2 separate regions of the Homo sapiens genome follow, and region 2 is linked to region 1. The links are contacts of gene promoters, found by promoter capture Hi-C in human tissues and cell types (Jung and others, 2019). All regions are on one chromosome and are shown on one strand. Each heading gives the region's core, a stretch centred on a gene start or on the middle of the fragment in contact. The rest is flanking DNA. Distances are from core to core; before and after follow the strand shown. Region 1 holds the start of GAST (gastrin). Region 2 overlaps DNAJC7 (DnaJ heat shock protein family (Hsp40) member C7).

Region 1 (2,700 bases), core at 109-2,608:
TGCTCTGTCTCCCAGGCTGGAATGCAGTGGCTGGCGTGATCCTGACTCGCTGCAGCCTCGACCTCTTGGGCTCAAGAGATCCTCCCACCTCAGCCTCCTGAGTAGTTGGGACTACAAGTGTGCACTACTATGCCCAGCTAATTTTTTTGTTTTTATTTTTAGTAGAGATGAGGTCTCACTATGTTGCCCAGGCTGGTCTGGAACTCCTGAGCTCAAGCAATCTGCTTGCTTCAGCCTCCCAAAGTGTTGTGATCACAGGCATGAGCCACGGTGCCTGGCCATTAAGTTTTTCATAATCAGGTTTTCTGTTAGGTTTTCTTTGGAAGAAAAGAATTCTGCTGCTGAAGAAATGTTTGAAAAATCAGTGATCTGGAGCTGTATTGTCAGATGCTAACCACATGTGTTGTTCAGTGCTATAGCCACCAGCCACATGTGGCTCTTTACATTTAAATTAATTAAATTAAAAAATTATGGTCAGGTGCAGTGGCTCACGCCTGTAATCCCAGCACTTTGGGAGGCTGAGGGGGTTGGATCACTTGAGGTCAGGAGTTTGTGACCAGCCTGGCCAACATGGTGAAACTCTGTCTCTACCAAAAATATGAAAAATTAGCTGGGTGTTGTGGCAGGCGCCTGTAATCCCGGCTACTCGGGAGGCTGAGTCAGGAGAATTGCTTGAACCTGGGAGGCAGAGGTTGCATGTCACTGCACTCCAGCCTGGGTGACACGGCGAGACTCTATATAAAAAAACAAACAACAACAACAACAAAAACTTCCTTACACTAACCCCATTTCAAGCGCACACGTGGCTAGTGGCTACCATATTGAACAGTGCAGATGAAGACCATTTCCTGCATCATAGGACGTTCTTTTGGATGGCACTGGTCTAGGAAAGGGCTTGAAGTGGGATCCAGGAGCTGTGGATTCCTATCCCAGCCTTGCCTAATAATCCCTGTGACTTTGGGCAAGTCACATCTTGCCTCTGGGCCTCAGTTTTCTTGTCTGAGAGAAAGGAGAAGAACCCCAGTCCTCCTCACCTCCCAGGGCTGGGAAGAGTGTGAAGGGATAGGCTAAGGGCAGGGCCCCGGCTGCGGCAGAAGGGCAGGTGGAAGGCAAGGTTGGGAATACCAGGGTAGGTACTGGAGCCAAGACCTAGTTCCATCCTGGGATAAAGAAAGGGTCCCAGCTCTGGAGACCCCAAGGGGTGAGCCCCAGACTCTGGCCAGTGGCCTGGTACCTTGATGGGGGAGAGGACCTGTCAACCCACTTCCTAGCCTCTCCCCTCTCCTCCTGGGTTTTCTCACCTGCAGAGCTGGGAGGTGTGTGGTGCCACGGCTGGGCCTGGTGCCTCTCAGGTCTCTGCTCTGCTTGATGCTCCAGGCCTGCCTTATAAAGCCCTCAAGGTCCCTCCCAACTGTCCCCCCACCCCGCCCCTACCCTGCCATATGAGTCCAGGCGAGAGGAATGGGGTGGGGCACAGGTACAGCCCATCACCCTGCCCCGCCCTTTCATTTAGTGTCAGTCAGTCATCCAGGATGTGGGGGAAGGATAGGGGAGTTGACCTTCATGGTGAGGGGCTGGAGCGGGGTGGCGGCAGCTCTCCAGCTGTACCTGAGGGGCAGGAACCAAGCTCCCTGGGTCAGGAGCAATGCTTCCCACCATATCCTGGGGGTCAGAGGCCTGGCACTTATCTCTCGAACTACATAGGGACCTTTGTGGGTGGTGGTAGGTGAGGGAGTGAACCCGATGGGCTTAGATTCAGGGAAAGTGGATTTCGCCATCCACTGATGTTTGGCAAGCGTGTGAATGTGGGGTGATGTATTGATTCCCCGTCCCCTCCACTGGACTCTGCAAACATAACGTGTTACCAGGAGCAATGGGTTGTGGGCTGATGGCCCTGTTCTCTCCTTCTAGTGGCTCACATCCTGGTCACCTCTGAAGTCCTTTCACCCTCCCCCTACCATGGAACACCCTTGGTGCCTTCTTCTCCTTAGGCCCTCTGTGCTGGGCTGGGTTTGGCTTGTAGCTGCCCCGTGTCTTCTAGGTCAGCTGCCCATGCACCACCACTTGCAAACCCCCTATGCAGAACCAATTCCTGGAGGGTCCTGCCTTTGAAGCCTCCTTCATTTTGCTTTCAAGGGGAGCTAGTAATCTGCATAACAACTTTTTTTTTTTTTTGAGACAAAGTCTAGTTCTGTCACCAGGCTGGAGTGCAGGAGTGCAGTGGTGTGATCTCGGCTCACTGGAACCTCCGCCTCCTGGGTTCAAGCGATTCTTCTGCCTCAACCTCCCTAGTAGCTGGGATTACAGGCGCACGCCCCCACGCCTGGCTAATTTTTTGTATTTTTAGTAGAGATGGGGTTTCATCGTGTTGGGCGGGCTGGTCTCGAACTCCTGACCTCATGATCGGCCCAGCTTAGTCTGCCAAAGTTCTGGGATTACAGACGTGAGCCACCATGCCCAGCCAACAACTTTTCAGTATCAAAATATACCTTCAAATGGTTAGCAAACAGACTAAAGCATTTGCCAAAGATGGACCAGAAAACAAAATGGTACCTTGTTGACTTATTTGATAAACTGCTGCCTCCACATGGTTTGACCAGATGTAATGAGCCGTAGGCTGTTTTTTACTTTTCCACTGTTGAGAGCAGAGATTTTGCTCCTGTTCATGCGTCATTGGGCCCCCACCTTTTCTGGGAGAGT
Region 2 (2,700 bases), core at 15-2,514, 290 kb before region 1:
TTAAACACCAACATGCTATGCTTTTAACTCTTTTGCCACCTGCCTTTGCTCTGCTTGTTCTTCCAGTGACAAATGCATGAGCCACTTTTCAGGAGGTGAAATTATTAAAACTCTTGAGGATGTGACCTATTTCACATTGAGAAATAAGTTGCCCTGAATGGAGTAACCATTTTTCCTGTAAGTTTGCAAAAGAGGCAGCAGTTGTGACACTGTGGAAGGAGATAGAAAAATTCCTTGCCATGAGGGAATGTCTAAATTTGTCCTGCGGGGAGGATGACTACAGGCAGAAATAGTGAGGTGAGGCAGGAACATAAGAGGGGTTTTCTTGATTTAGTTTGAATGTATCTAAGTGACAAAAAGGAGCATCTGAAGAACTTGGATTCTTTCATTAGCACCTCCTTTTGGTCCATTGGCCTATTCAACAAATCTATAAATCCTTCAAGTATCACACTAACTTTCAGCTCAGTGTGCTGCGGGCTCTAGACCAAAGATTCCTCCTGTAAGATTACAGAGGTTATTCCCTTTGTAAAGTAACATGATTCTCTTTCTCTTTCATTTTCAGGGAAGCAGAGACTTTCAAGGAACAAGGAAATGCATACTATGCCAAGAAAGATTACAATGAAGCTTATAATTATTATACAAAAGCCATAGGTGAGAAAGAACTGATACTTACGCTAGAAAACATTTACTTGCCAAATATTATTAAAAGTAGCTGCCAAGTCCTGGTGGCTCACGCCTGTAATCCCAGCACTTTGGGAGGCCAAAGCAGGAGGATCACTTTAGATCAGGGGTTTCAGACCACTCTGGCCAACATGACGAAACCCCGTCTCTACTGAAAATACAAAAATTAGCTGGGCCTGGTGGCGGGCACCTGTAATCCCAGCTACTTGGGAGGCTGAGGCAGGAGAATTGCCTGAACTCGGGAGGTAGAGGTTGCAATGAGCCAAGATTGTGCCACTGCACTCCAACCTGGGCAACAAAGCAAGACTTCATCTCAAAAAGATAAAAAAAATAGGCCAGGCTCAGTGGCTCATGCCTGTAATCCCAGCACTTTGGGAGGCCAAAGCAGGCGGATCACTTTAGATCAGGGGTTTCAGACCACTCTGGCCAACATGACGAAACCCTGTCTCTACTAAAAATACAAAAATTAGCTGGGCCTGGTGGCGGGCACCTGTAATCCCAGCTACTTGGGAGGCTGAGGCAGGAGAATTGCCTGAACTCGGGAGGTAGAAGTTGCAGTGAGCCAAGATTGTGCCACTGCACTCCAACCTGGGCAACAAAGCAAGACTTCATCTCAAAAAGATAAAAAAAATAGGCCAGGCTCAGTGGCTCACGCCTATAATCCCAGCACTTTGGAAGGCCAAGGCAGGCAGATCACCTAAAGTCAGGAGTTTGAGACCGGCCTGGCTAACATGGTGAAACCCTGTCTCTACAAAATACAAAAATTTGCTGGGTGTGGTGGTGCGTGCCTGTAATCCCAGCTACTAGGGAGGCTGAGGCAGGAGAATCGCTTGAACCCAGGAGGTGGAGGTTGCAGTGAGCTGAGATCCTGCCGTTGCACTCCAGCCTGGGGGACGACCAAAGAACTCCATCTCAAAAATTAAATTAAAAAAAATTGAGAAAAGTAGCTTCTCTCTGAGAAGTAGCCTTTTGCCCAATGGGTTGATAACTGTTACTGTATGAACTCCTTCAGGCTTAATGATCTCATGAAGGCCAGGCGTGGTGACTCATGCCTGTAATCCCAGCATTTTGGGAGGCCGAGGCGGGCGGATCACCTGAGGTCAGGAGTTCTTCTCCCCTAATTTGCTTACCCCAACTCAACATGCACATTTCATTTCAGCCTGGCCTGTTAACATGGTGAAACCCTGTCTCTAAAGATACAAAAATTAGCCAGGTGTGGTGGGCGCTTGTAATCCCAGCTACTCGGGAGGCTGAGGCAGGAGAATTGCTTGAACCTGGGAGGCAGAGGTTGTAGTGAGCCAAGATCACGTCGCTGCACTCCAGCCTGGGCAACAAGCGCGAATCTCCGTCTCAAAAAAAAAAACAAACTCATGAATGATAACTTTTTTCTTTTTCTTTTCTTTTTTTTTAACTCTTTAAATTTTTTAAAATAGAGACAGGGTCTTACCATGTTGCCCCGGCTGGTCTCAAACTCCTGGGCTCAAGCGATCCTCCTACCTTGGCCTCCCAAAGTGCTAGAATTACAGGGATGTGCCACCATCCCCAGCTGTGATAACTTCTTCTAACTGGGGTGGGTAGTTTTTCTTTTGATAAATTAAAGGCAATTCCAGAAATACTGAATGTTATGGCAAAACCCACCTAAATACATTTCAGTCATTGTCAATTCATTTACTACCTTAGAAAATGGCCTTTGTACATAAAAGAAGTCTTAGTTATCTCCATGCTTAATTTGCCAGCATACTTTAATCCCGTGTCAGCATTCTTCTCACCTAATTTGCTTACCCCAGCTCAACATGCACATTTCATTTTAATGTCTCATTATACAAAACAGTTCATTAAGATTAATAAGCTGCCTCTCTCCTCAAAAGATAATCACTACACTTCAAAGCCGTACCTTGTTTTGTTTTAAAACTGATTGTATCCTTGCTGCTGTCCATTTGCACAAGCAGTCAGAAATTTGGATGCAGCCTATTTATTTATTGTTGAGACAGTGTCACTGTCACCCAGGCTGGAGTGTAG

What was found. The method cuts DNA at HindIII sites, captures the fragments that hold promoters and counts their contacts. A contact is called where the count stands out against the background at its distance.
Region 2: a contact is called between a fragment that was not itself captured here and the fragment with the promoter of GAST in region 1, in 1 of the 25 tissues and cell types used here (dorsolateral prefrontal cortex).

What each region holds. Positions count from the first base shown.
Region 1 is chr17:41,710,989-41,713,688 of GRCh38, reverse strand. GAST (gastrin) reads right to left here and starts at 1,358. Exons shown (of 3, transcript NM_000805.5): 1 at 1,302-1,358. The HindIII fragment of the contact is 8,154 bases long and covers 1-2,700 here.
Region 2 is chr17:41,998,433-42,001,132 of GRCh38, reverse strand. It overlaps DNAJC7 (DnaJ heat shock protein family (Hsp40) member C7), which reads left to right. Exons shown (of 14, transcript NM_003315.4): 2 at 563-651. Among named protein-coding and RNA genes, the nearest start is that of DNAJC7, 18 kb to the left of the region's middle. The HindIII fragment of the contact is 6,309 bases long and covers 1-2,700 here.